Regions from separate parts of the Homo sapiens genome. Here region 1 is linked to region 2. Evidence: promoter capture Hi-C in 16 types of primary human blood cells and fetal thymus (Javierre and others, 2016). All regions are on one chromosome and are shown on one strand. Each heading gives the region's core, a stretch centred on a gene start or on the middle of the fragment in contact. The rest is flanking DNA. Distances are from core to core; before and after follow the strand shown. Region 1 overlaps SMARCAL1 (SNF2 related chromatin remodeling annealing helicase 1). Region 2 holds the start of XRCC5 (X-ray repair cross complementing 5).

Region 1 (6,539 bases), core at 575-3,074, 370 kb after region 2:
TGACAGTCTTTTACCTTTTATGATGTGCATTTATCTGGTGGGCACATCTTACATTGCTGCTGCTGGACCACAGGGAGAAAGTGGCTTACCCTGGACTGTGTAGTGTACTTCGTTAGCAGAGCTGGAGTAAGATTTTCAACCCTAGGGTTTTCTGTCTGTTACCTAAGTGAAAAATCTCAAAAAGCTTCTTCCCCTTATCTCCCCCTTCCTGATACAAAATTTCTTGATTATCTCATTTGTTTCCACTGCTTGTCTCTGTTTCCAGCCTTATGACTAAGGAGTCTTCCCTTTGCAATGTGTGTGGGTCACTCCTACTTCCCCCTTTTTAGTGGATTTGTTAATTGGGCAGCTCATAATACCACCAGATTCAAAATTGTGTTGAAATGAGGCAGCATTTATTTCCTACACATCTTCCATTAGAAAGAATATTGAACCTGATGATATTCTTAGCCCTAAATTGGAGTTTTTACAAATGAGAGGGGGCAAATTTTTCAAGATGGGTGTTTGCACCTTGAGAGATGCAGAGATGTGAAACCGTAAACAAGCCGTTGTCCCATAAGAACAAGGAGGGTGGCCTCATTTTCATTAGTCTGGTGGTTCTGTGCAGGTTGTATTCACTGCAGCTCATTTCTCCCCAACAGGCCCCTGATTCAAGAGAAGATTAAAGTTCTGGCAGAAGCCGGGCTTTCTGAGACCAATTTTTCAGAAATGACAGAATCCACTGATTACCTCTACAAGGTAATGCCAGCACATGGCTCTTCACCCCTGGAGCAGAGGGAGGCATTAAGCTGTCTGCCAAGTCTTTGGGTCCTGAGTAGGAGGATGTGAATCACTCCTAGGGACCTCCCCCAGCCTAGAGCTGAAAACAATGGCCTGCAGTCATTCTCAGTTGAACCATGCATGCATCGCTTTATGGGGAAATGATGGCATTAGCTCCTACAGCTGCTGACATTCCCGCACAGGCTCTGAATGCTGCCTCTTCCAGCAGGCCATTAGAAACTGACAAAACTCCCCATGGCAAATGTTGAATTGTTTCAAAAAGTACACAGCAACACCACACATAGGGCTGCCACAGGAATGCATCCCCAGCACAGAATGGGGAGTGTTTAAAATAGGGTACTGGCTTCATAGAATATATTTTCCCTTCTGTCATTTTATTTATTCTCAGTGTCTCCCCACTTGATAGAGGGGTAAACTGAGACATGGCAGTATAGTAGGTTTGCACAAAGTCACAGGGCATGTGAAGCCAGCCCAAGGAAGAAGGCTTCCTGACTTGGCCCAGCATTCCTCCTTTGAGCTCAGCCCTTGTTGTAAAGGAGTATAAGAGGCATCCCTCCATGACCAGGCAGGCCTTGTCAAAGGTGCTGAGGGGGAAGGCTGTTGCCTCTGAACAGGACAGCCCTGGGCCCATCATGCCTGCCTGGTTTCAGTGCTGCAGCCCAGTGGCTGCCACAGACTCTTCCTCCCCCATTTCAGTGAAACACAGTGGAGTGAGCAAGAGACCCAGAGCCTTCCAAAAGCTTGTTTTCCTTCCCCAGCTTGGATTGTTGGCCAGAAGGTGAAAACCAGGAGTATGCCCTCCTCGAGCACAGCTCATGGTTGAATTGTTTCTGCCAGGAGAGTTTGAACCAGGTCTGAGCCTCATGCAGAAAGGGGCCTTACGGTAGCTTATCAGGAAAGTGAAGCACCTCCTCCTTCCTGTGAAATCACCATCAGAATATTGAGTTAGGCCACACATGGTGGTGCACACCTGTAGTCCCAGCTACTCCAGAGGAAAAGGTGAGGATCACTTGAGCCTAGGAGGTCAAGGCTGTAGTTAGCCATGATGGTCACTGTACTCTAAACTGGGCAACAGAGCAAGAGCCTGCCTCAAAAAAAAAAAAAGAGAAAGAAAAAAGTTTAAATAAATAAGAAGTTGAGTTAAATCTTATCGTTGACACCAAGACTTAAGACTCTGTGGATCTGCTCATTCACTTACATTTATTTAGCAAATAAATTCTTTCTTTGCAAGGATTTATTTGCTAAATATTGGGATAAATAAGACTCAGATCATATTTTTAAATGCAGACTGCAAATTATCCTTTCAGACATATATAGTTAATAAGCCAATTTTAAAACAACCTTATTTTTAAGCTTTTTAAAGAACTCTCCAGTTCAGCTGAATGGTAAATGGTAACAGAGCCTAGGTTATTACAAGCCTTTTGAAAAGAAATAGTCTGAGCAGGCATAGTGGCTCAAGCCTCTAATCCCACACTGAGGCGGACAGATGACTTGAGCCCAGGAGTTTGAGACCAGCCTGGGCAACATGGTGAAACCCCCATCTCTACAAAAAATACAAAAATTAGCCAGGCATGATGGCACATGCCTGTATTCCCAGCTACTCAGGAGACTGAGGCAGGAGGATTCCCTGAACCTGGGAGGCAGAGGTTGCAGTGGGCCAAGATCACACCACTGCATTTCAGCCTAGGCAACAGAGACAGACCTTGTCTCAAAAAAGAAAAAAAAGAAAGCCTATTTTTAAAGGATTCTCACTTGAACTCATTTATTCCTCCTTGCCTTTCTCTTACTCTAAATTGGTTAAGCATTTCTACCTAAAATATAAGTACAAGGTAATATAAATGAGTTTTATCAATATTTTGATCAATAACTATATCAATTTATTTTTTAATTAAGATGGGGCTGAAAATTTTATCAACTACTAGAAAAAGAAAATGTTGCTTCCAATATAGGAGACAAAAGCAGAAGAGGTTATATCTCACTGAGATAGCCTTCCTTCTGAGAGGGGAAATGAAATATTAATCTGATCTTGGAACTCGCTTCCAATTAATTATGCATGCCCCGAGTCAGCATACAGTGTTGCCATCATCATAATCAAATGCACATTAGCAGCTTTTTCTACTTGGAATAGGCTGCCTTGCAGGGTGGCGTTTCCTTGACATTGCAGTCATTCAGAAAGAGGCTGATGAGGGCATCCTGGAGGAGGACATGTGGGTTATTTGGGGGTCAGCCTTGATGATCTTTCATATCATTTCCCTCTCTGCAAGGCTGGGATCCTGAAAGGCTAGGAGATTTCGGGTGCAGGTTAATTGAATAATCTGGAGTTCTTACATGACAGGCTGTCATGATCAATTTTCAAGGAACTCTACTTCACCAATGTGGAGGGATTTGGTTAAGGAATAGTGAGGAACAGTGGCCAGGTACGTTGAGACCTAATTCTATAAAGGCCTGAAAAGCCAGGGGAGCAACTGTAGACTTGATGAGGTAGGGACAGCGGAGCCCAAAGACATGACCAAAAAAATCTTTAAAGGAGAGCCTGGGGGTAAAAATCAGCTGGCAAAGATCTGTAGGCTGTTTGAAATGGGAAGAAGCCTGAGGCAGGAAGCGCAGTTGAGCTGTTGCAAATCCATGCAGTACCAAGTGATGTGGCCCAAGTAAAGATGGTGCCTGAAGGAGAGAGGAGGGAACTAATGGGGGGAACAAACTTGCATAAGCCGAGGACTCTGTTTGCCTGGATGATTTCCACCTGGGAGACTACGAGAATGCAGGTAGACTATAAAAACTAGACTTATGGGAAGAGAAGCTGCTTTGAGAATATAGGAGATGAGAGATCATTTGATTTTTTATATTTATTTATTTATTTATTTATTTAGAGACAGGGTCTCACTCTGTCACCCAGGCTGGAGTACAGTGGCACTATGCTGGCTCACTGCAACCTCCGCCTCCCAGGCTCAAGTGATTCCCCCCATCTCAGCCTCCCGAGTAGCTGGAACTACAGGCGCATGCTGCCAACACCCGGCCAATTTTCTGTATTTTTGATAGAGATGGGGTTTTGCCATGTTGCCCAGGCTGGTCTCTAATTCCTGAGCTTAGATGATCCCCCCGCCTCGGCCTCCCAAAGTGCTGGGATTACAGGCGTGAGCCCTTGCAGCAGCCTTATTTTTATGTATTTATTTTTTTTTTGAGACAGAGTCTCACTCTGTCACCCAGGCTGGAGTGCAGTGGCGTGATGATGGCTCACTGCAACCTCTGCCTTGTGGGTTCAAGCGATTCTTGTGCCTCAGCCTCCCAAATAGCTGGGACTACAGGCACGCACCACCATGTCTGGCTAATTTTTTGTATTTTTAGTAGAGATGGGGTTTCACCACGTTGGCCAGGCTGGTCTCGAACTCCTGACCTCAGGCGATCCATCCGCCTCGGCCTCCTAAAGTGCTGGGATTACAGGTGAGAGCCACTGAGCCCAGCCAAAAGATCATTTGATTTTAAACCAGTTTAGTTTTATGAAACTGTGGGATGTCAGTGGAGATATGGAAAATATACCTCTAAATTGAAAAATGGTCAAAGTTGGAAATTTAGATGTAGGAAAAATCGGCAGAGGGGTGATAGTGATCGTGTGTTGTGGTTGTATCCACTGGGCATGGTTTTAACACTACACCATTGTCATCAATGTATAGATGCAGTTGGTGGGTATTTTGATTATTTGTAATTTAAGGTAATCAGAATAGGTACACATATCTACTTATGAATATGTTAAATGTGTGTATGTTTTTTCAACTACTTTGAAAATTAGGTATAAGCCATGGCTGAACACAGAGATTTGGAAGTTGGGGGGCTGGGCACATGGTGGCTCACACCTGTAATCCCAACATTTTGGGTAGCTGAGGTGGGCAGATCATTTGAGCTCAGGAGTTCGAGACCAGCCTGGGCAACATTTAGTGAGATCCCATCTCTTAAAAAATTATAAAAATAAAAATAAATTTAAAAATAGAGATTTAGAAGTTGAATTATACCTTAACTGACCCTTAGTAGAGAAAGGCTTTGGAGGAAGTGAGATCTTGGGTGCTATTTCAGTATTGAAATAATGATTTGGAAAGTTCAAAGGGAGAAAACATTTCCAATGTAAATTATAGCGTGAGAGCAGCTTCTTTGTTGCACTCACAACCATTTCTTTTTCCTAACTCAATGAGCACAGAGAGGGTAAGATGTCAGACACTAAAACAGTGAGGCTGCTTTAGTGATGGTTTGCTGAGATGATGCACACTTGCCATCGTGTAGCTCCCTGACACCATGAAATGTGTGGTCTCTCATCTTTATATTCTCTCATCAGCCCTAGTGGAGGAGAGTCAGTGTTGGAGCCTGGGCTCTTCCTTTTATCTTTTGTTTTCTTTCTCTGATGAAGGACCCAAAGCAGCAGAAGATCTACGACCTATTCCAGAAGTCCTTTGAGAAAGAAGGAAGTGATATGGAGCTCCTGGAAGCAGCAGAGTCCTTTGACCCAGGAAGTGCTTCAGGAACATCTGGAAGTAGTTCCCAGAACATGGGAGACACCCTGGATGAAAGCTCATTGACAGCCAGTCCACAGAAGAAAAGGAGATTTGAATTTTTTGATAACTGGGACAGCTTTACGTCTCCCCTGTAAAAGGGGCAAAAAGAAAAAAATAAAAAGCATTTTAAAATCATGGAATTGAAATAAAATAATGTATTTTGTTTTAAAACTTTTTGAGCTTCTCTTGCCATTGCAGCAGTGCCTATGCCTGTGTCCAGGCTCAGCAGGAGACCAGGCCGAGCATCAGCTTTCCATTCCTGTGTCATTACGTGTGGGCTTGCTTGGGGTCTTAACCTCCGCTCTTCTGGCTTAGGGATGGACACAGCGAGTTGTAGTAGTGGGTAATTCATGTTCTCTAAAGAATGAGGTCCTTCCTACACAGTCCCCATAATCTAGAATTTTAAAATTTAGTGACTCAACAAATATTTATAGGGCACCTAATTTGTGCAGGCACTGTCCTAGGTGTTGGTAGTCATTCATCCAACAAAAGACAAAAGCGTGAGCCTTTGCCGAACTTACGCAGCGGGAGAGGCAATGGTTGTAGGTTCTCTTTTCCAATATAACTCTTCATGGACACTGAAATTTGAATTTTATTAATGTTCACGTATCACAAATTATTTTTTTTCTGCCATTTAAAAATGTGAAAACCATTCCTTGTTTACCAGCTGTACAGAAACAGACAGTGGGCTGGAAGTTGTCCACTGCCCATAGTTTGCCAATCCCTGGTTTAGAGCAGCGTGTTCCATTAGCAATGTAATGCAAGCTGCATATGTGATTGTAACTTTTCTAATAGAACATTTAGACTTAAGATTAATAATATAGGGAGGCTGAGGTGGGAGGATCACCCGAGGTCGGGAGTTCAGGACCAGCCTGACCAACATGGAAAAACCCCGTTTCTACTAAAATTACAAAATTAGTCTGGTATGGTGGTGCATGCCTGTAATCCCAGCTACTTGGGAGGCTGAGGCAGGAGAATCACTTGAACCCGGGAGGTGGAGGTTGTGGTGAGCCCAGATTGCGACATTGCACTCCAGCCAAGAGCGAAACTCCGTCTCAAAAAAAAAAAAGAAAAGATTAATAATGCATTTAACCCAATATATTAAATATATTATTTCAATTTACAAACAATATTTAAAAATTATTAATGGGAAATTTTAGATTCTTGGACTGGGCACAGTGGCTCATGCCTGTAATCCCAGCACTTTGAGAGGCCAAG
Region 2 (6,478 bases), core at 3,743-6,242:
CTATGGTCCCAGCCCCTCGGGAGGCTGAGGTGGAAGGATGGCTTGAGCCCGGGAGGTGGAGGTTGCAATGAGCTAAGATAGCGCTACTACACTCCAGCCTGGGTGACAGAGTGAGATCCTCTCTCAAAACAAAAGCAAAACCAAATAAACCCCACCAAAATAGTCACTCAATTCCTTTGCTCACAGTTTTGCAATTTGTGCAGAGCTTGGTGGAGACTACTAGTCTGCTCAATGTTTCTAGTGCTGAGATAGCTTCCTAAGGAGGATCTTCTCCCTAGACAGCCTCACTTGCGTGGCTGCCAAGTTGGTGCTGGGTGACATCCAGGTTACTGTTGGGGCTGTTGGTGCTCAGTGCTTGTATTAGTCCACTTGGGCTACCATAACAGACTTGGGCTGTCATAACAGATAATACCATAGACTAGGTAGCTTAAATGACAGAAATTAGTTTTCTCACAGTTCTAGAGGCTGGAGGGATCTCTTCTTGGGTTGCAAGTGGCTGTCTTCTCACTCTGTGTTCACATGATCTCTTTGTGTGAGTGGGGAGAGAGGGAGAGAGGGAGAGATGGGGAGGGAGGGAGGGGGAGAGAGAGAGAGAGCGAGCGAGCTCTCTAGCGTCCCTTTGTCTCTTGTTTCTTTTCACAGAAGCACTAATTCCATCAGGAGGGCCACCCTCATGACTTTACCTAAATCTGATCACCTCCCAAAGGCCTCATCTCCAAATATCATCACATTGGGGGTTAGAATCTCAACATATGAATTTTGGGGAGACACACTCAGTCCATAATAGGGCTCCTTCATGTGGCTATGTTGGGCTTTCACAGCATGGCAGTCTTCATACATGGTATCTGGGTTCACCAGGGTGCAAAAGACAAATCTGCCAGGTATTCTAAAGGCTTCAGCCCAGAACTACCTACTGTTCTGTAAATGCCTACACATTTTACTGGTTATAGCAGGTCATGAGGCCTGTCCAGATTCACGGGGAAGGAACTACATAAGGGTGTGAATGCTGAGAGGCATGGCTCACACGCATCACCAAAATGACATTTTGCCATTCCCCCTTTCCTATCCCATTTATTTCCCTCATATGCCACAGTGGCTTTTACACATTTCTCTCTAACTCCCCCTTCTGTCCCCCAACACACATACCATCACCACCACTAGTCATAGCCCATCAACCTCCTGTCCCCCTTTATTCCCAATTCTGTATCATTTAAATCCAAAAGGACCTTGCACTGACAGAAACAGAACGAACAAAGCCAGAATCCTTTTGTTGTGGAGGAGGAAGGGAGTAGCCATATATGCTGTCACATCATTAATAATGTTTATCCCTTGACCCTTGATTAATGAAGGCCCTTTGCCAGGGGAAGCAATGCTTAAAGTCCATATCCCTTTTCAGCGTCACAGATGCCTAGCTGCACAGAGGTGGCTGGTTCTAAAGACTTCTATAAAAACAGCTGAGATGCAAACAAGCACAGCTACTAGAACCTCTTTTATTTCTTCCAAGAAACAGACCTGTACTGAAGGGTGTATGGAAGACAGAGAGTGGGGACAGGGAGAAGGAGAAGAAGGGGGAGGAGGAGGAGCAGGAGGAAGAGGAAGGGGAAAAGCAAGAGGGAGGGAGGGAAGGAGGAAGGGAGAGAGAGAGAGAAAGGAAGAGGAAAAATAGAGACCATATACAAGATAAAAACATGGACATAAAGCATGCAAATTTCCTTCACTGTACTGAGTCTCCAGTAATTCTCTTTACCAGTCTTATTAAAAATATTTTTTAGGCTGAGCGCGGTGGATCACATCTGTAATCCCAGCACTTTGGGAGGCTGAGGTGGGCGGATCACCTGAGGTCAGGAGTTCGAGACCAGCCTGGCCAACATGGCAAAATCCCGTCTCTACTAAAAATACAAAAATTAGCCGGCACAGTGGTGGGTGCCTATAATCCCAGCTACTTGGTAGGCTGACGCAGGAAAATCGCTTGAGCCTGGTGGCGGGTGGGAGCGGCGGAGGTTTGTAGTGAGCCGAGATCGTGCCACTGCACTCCAGCCTGGGCGCAGAGTGAGACTGTTCTCAAAAAAAAAGAGGGTATCAGGGTACATTATCTCCACATGCTGATAAGTTGTTACATAAGTCCCACCAATTCACAATTTAATATCATATACTCTACCCACTCAAATTTTCAGTCTTTCAAAGCACATTAACAAAGTTATCAGGAAAATGGGACTAGCACAACCAAAGATGTTACAGACTGCACACAATTTTGACACGGATAGCAACGTGACCAAGGAGTGGTTTTCTTCAGGAAACAATTCTACTAAAAAAACCCATGAAAATAAAAGTAATTTAAAATTTTCAAGACACATTAAATGCATGACTGTGGCTCTATATTGCCATTTAGTATGCGCTGTACTGTAGGAAATAAAATACCCTCTCCCTAGGGAATGTTAAACTGACTTCGAAGACAGTGAAAGCCTCCCATTATTCACTATTTCAGTGTTTCCTGGTTGTACCAAACAACAAACAAGTGAATTATTTCACCTTTTAAAAGCTACACTTTAAAAATGGGATAAAGTGGGATTCCCTCCTTCCTAAAAATGTTTCAGCCAGGCACAGGCTCACGCCTGTAATCCCAGTACTTTGGGAGGTCAAGGTGGGCGGATTACCTGAGGTCGGGAGTTCGAGACCAGCCTGACCAAGATGGAGAAACCCCATCTCTACTAAAAATACAAAATTAGCTGGGTGTGGTGGCACATGCCTGTAATCCCAGCTACTTGGGAGGCTGAAGCAGGAGAATCGCTTGAACCCGGCAGGCGGAGGTTGCCGTAAGCAGAATTCGCGCCACTACACTCCAGCCTGGGCAACAAGAGGGAAACTCTGTCTCAAAAAAAAAAAAAAAAAAAAAAGTTTCTACAGCTACTAAAAAACTTGCATTTAAAAATAGTTGATAAAAATATTCCTTATCAAAATAGTTGATAAAAATATTCCTCTGAGGCCAAGTGCAGTTGCTCACACCTGTCATCCCAGCACTTTGGGAGGCTGAAGCGGGAGGATCGCTTGATCCCAGGAGTTCAAGACCAGGCTGGGCAACATAGGAAGACCCCGCCTCCACACACACACAGAAACCCCACAAAAATTAGCTGGGCTTGGTGGCACACACCTGTGGTCCCAGCTACCTGGGAGGCTGAGGTAAGTGAATCGCTTGAGCCCAGGGGTTCCAGGGTGCAGAGAGCTATGATTGTGCTACTGGACTCCAGCCTCGGCCGAGCGACACCCTGTCTGTTTCTTTCCTTTTCTCTCTCTCTCTAGCTCTGGATCGTACAAGAAGGGAGACAAGGACCACTGACAAGATATGGTATGTGATACTAATCAGATTTGGCTTCTTTCTGTCCTGCTTCACCAGAGGCTGGACTCTCCTTGTTTCAGTTTCTCCGCTTTCCACAGATAAATCTTTTGTTTCCCGGATAGCCACTTGGCCTGTTTGCCCTTTGCTCCCATTTTTCCTTGTTTGCTTCTTTGTCTGAAAATTTATGCTGTCCTGCTGCCTCCGCTGGGCTTCGTTTCCACCTTTGCTGGAGGAGATTTAGCTGACAACCTCACAGATCTTCCCCGCCCCTTCTGCCGAGCTGATCTTTCTCTTGGAAATCTTACCCGCAGGGAAGGGCGAGTGTCCGTGCCTGCCTGCCTGCCTGCTGCAGCCCGCGCAAAGCTGAGCGGCCAGGGCGCTGCTGTTCCTTTAAAGTATTATTAAAAATAATATTTCAGCTTTTAAGTAACTCCTTGAGTTTGAATCAAAAGCTGGAAGAACCTCCTGGGCTCTATGAGCACCTCTGAATATGTCTGACTCTACATTCTAGAGGCTTCAATGTATTTATAATTTTGGCTCATAGATTCTCCACATCTTTTCAGCTTCAATTCTTGCTTTTCCCAGAAACAATTTTCAAGCAGGAGAGAATATTGATTGGACTTGATTTTCTCAGTTTGGGCAGAGGTTTGCAGACACTTTGCAGGTTGCCAGACCCTTCGTCCAGCCACCTGTCAGCTGGGGGTCATATGGTATAGAAAGCAGTCATTTCTATGCAAGGTACTGCTTGGGCCTGCCTCCCTCAAAGGGGTAGGGGATGCGGGCTGGACAAAGGGCTCGTGATCAAGTAAAGCACTGTGATGACAGCTGCTATTTCTATATCTCCCTAGACTTGTCTTCTAAATTAAACCTTGACTCCTCCCTTCCAAGCTGGAGCCACTGCTAACTACTGGGAGAGCCTTAGCAGATAAAGTCTCATGCCTCCAGGCGTTTGTGCATCCCATTTTCTCTGCAGAGTAGAATCTCCCTTCTACTTTTGTGCTCCTGGGGACGTCCTACTCTTCTTCCCCAGTTGGCTCTAAGGTTATCACATCGGTGAAGTGTTTCATTATCACTTTTTAGAAGAAACTGAGTCTTTTAGAGAAGTTAAGTGACTTTCTGCATTCATACTCATACTCAAGAAAATCTAACTCCACAATAACCAAAAATAAAAAGTAGAAAAAAACCCACAAGTGATGAGAAAAAAAAAAATCAAAAGTTATAAAAAATAAATGAAAAAATGAAATTAAAGGAAAAAAGATTTTTTAAAAAAGTAAAAAAAAGAAAAGAAATCTAACTCCAGAGCTCTGACACAAAATGCCTTAGGTGTTATTCTCAATGAGAGAAAAGGGACGTGAATCTTTAAGTGATTAAGTGAATCTTTAAGTAAATCTGTCGTACTAGCGTTTCAGGCGGCTCAAACACCACACGCTCCCGACTACGGCGGAATGGAGAGAATGTGCGCATGCTCGGCGGGAATCTGCGCATGCTCGGCGGGAATCTGCGCATGCTCGGAGAGAATCTGCGCATGCTCGGCCGGAATCTGCGCGAGCTCGGCGGGAATCTGCGCAAGCTCGGCGGGAATCTGCGCATGCTCAGAGTTCCGGGGCACGGTTTCCCCGCCCCTTTCAGGCCTAGCAGGAAACGAAGCGGCTCTTTCCGCTATCTGCCGCTTGTCCACCGGAAGCGAGTTGCGACACGGCAGGTTCCCGCCCGGAAGAAGCGACCAAAGCGCCTGAGGACCGGCAACATGGTGCGGTCGGGGAATAAGGTATAAAGAAAGCCATGGACTTGGGCTTTACCCGGACTGGGGATCCGGAGAGGGTGGTTCGGAAGCAGGAATCGTGGGATCGCGGTCAAGACAAAGAATGGGGCAAGAGAAGATCATGGTGGTGGGCTCAGTCAGGAGGGCCGGGACCGAGGGATGCGCTATGAGAAAAGCTGGAGATTTGGGGCTCCAAGACCTGAATTTGAGCCTCGCTGACTCCACCTCTTCCATTACCCACCCATCCCATCCCTCTTCTCCCTCTCTACCTGCTCTTTGTCTCACCTGCCTCCCCACCCGCCTCCCCTCTCTCTCTCTTTATCCCATTCCACTCCCTAGCCCCACTTCCTCTATTACTTCCGAGCCTGGGTTCTTAAGATCTCTATGAGAATGAAAATTAGCTGTGATAAAGCAACTATCCCACAGGGCTTGTTGTAAAACTTAAGAGAGGGACTATCTGTGACTAAAATAACTTAAACTGTAAAGCGTCGTATTATTAGCTTTATAATAACGTAGTATCCCGCATTTATTGAAAGCCCACTCTGTGAGGGACGGATCTAAACCTTTTATTCTTATCTCATTTAATCTTCACAACCCCTTGAAGTGAAAACTATTTATCCCCATTTTGCAAGTGGGAAAACCGAGGAATAAAGAACTGTGGGCTTTTCCTGGTGAAATCCGGATTTGAATCCAAGCTGTCTGGTTTCAGGGCCCTGGAGAACCCCTGTGTTGCTAGAAATCTATGACCATTGGTGTCCCAGATCAGTAACAGAAATTACAATGAATTTTAAAGTGATTTTTTTTTTTCAACATAAAAGAGTGGTAGTTGTCTCTGAAGGGTCACTAGAGGGAGATGTGGTTCCAGGGATTAATGAATTTATTCAATACAGATAAACAAGATACGAGTTTGAGCAACTGATCCCTAGTTCCCTCAACTCCTCATTGAGAAATGTTGATTAAAACGATCATGAACTTTTAATAATGCCACTCACCTCCTTTTTTCGTCCTCTTTCAGCTGCTGAAAACTTTGTAGCTCTAGTGGAGGAGCTGTTTGTTGCAGATGAACTGGAAGTAAAATTCTAACAGCCTGTATTGCTTCGGTATAGAAATGAAGAGTTGCTATGCTACCCGGTTTCTCTTTCTCAGTTTTCTTACTGCTGCCAGATAGGAACTCAGAAATATAGACCATTCTGCTTCCAGACAATAAGTTCCATATTTGAAACCCTTTGATGGCACTTACTGGATACCTAATTCATGACAAAAGTGCTTTAGTCCTCTAGAGTTTTCTGGTTTAAAAGTAGCTTTTGTGGGTGTGTATCAAATAAGTGCAGCAGCATATTTTGTGACTCTTAAGTTTTTTTAGGTTATCATGCCCCAGGCAT

The links. Contacts are between HindIII fragments. The CHiCAGO score rates a contact against its expected background, and 5 or more counts as called.
Region 1: a fragment that was not itself captured here is called in contact with the fragment with the promoter of XRCC5 in region 2 in 7 of 17 cell types (activated CD4 T cells, total CD4 T cells, neutrophils and 4 more); the score reaches 7.6 in activated CD4 T cells.

The regions. Positions count from the first base shown.
Region 1 is chr2:216,477,562-216,484,100 of GRCh38, forward strand. It overlaps SMARCAL1 (SNF2 related chromatin remodeling annealing helicase 1), which reads left to right. Exons shown (of 18, transcript NM_014140.4): 17 at 642-738; 18 at 5,177-5,492. The coding sequence ends at 5,416. RPL37A-DT (RPL37A divergent transcript) reads right to left here. Exons shown (of 4, transcript NR_183317.1): 4 at 5,896-6,375. Among named protein-coding and RNA genes, the nearest start is that of RPL37A-DT, 18 kb to the right of the region's middle. The HindIII fragment of the contact is 613 bases long and covers 1,519-2,131 here.
Region 2 is chr2:216,104,356-216,110,833 of GRCh38, forward strand. XRCC5 (X-ray repair cross complementing 5) reads left to right here and starts at 4,993. Exons shown (of 21, transcript NM_021141.4): 1 at 4,993-5,102. The coding sequence starts at 5,082. RefSeq lists an enhancer at 4,717-5,338. The HindIII fragment of the contact is 16,954 bases long and covers 1-6,478 here.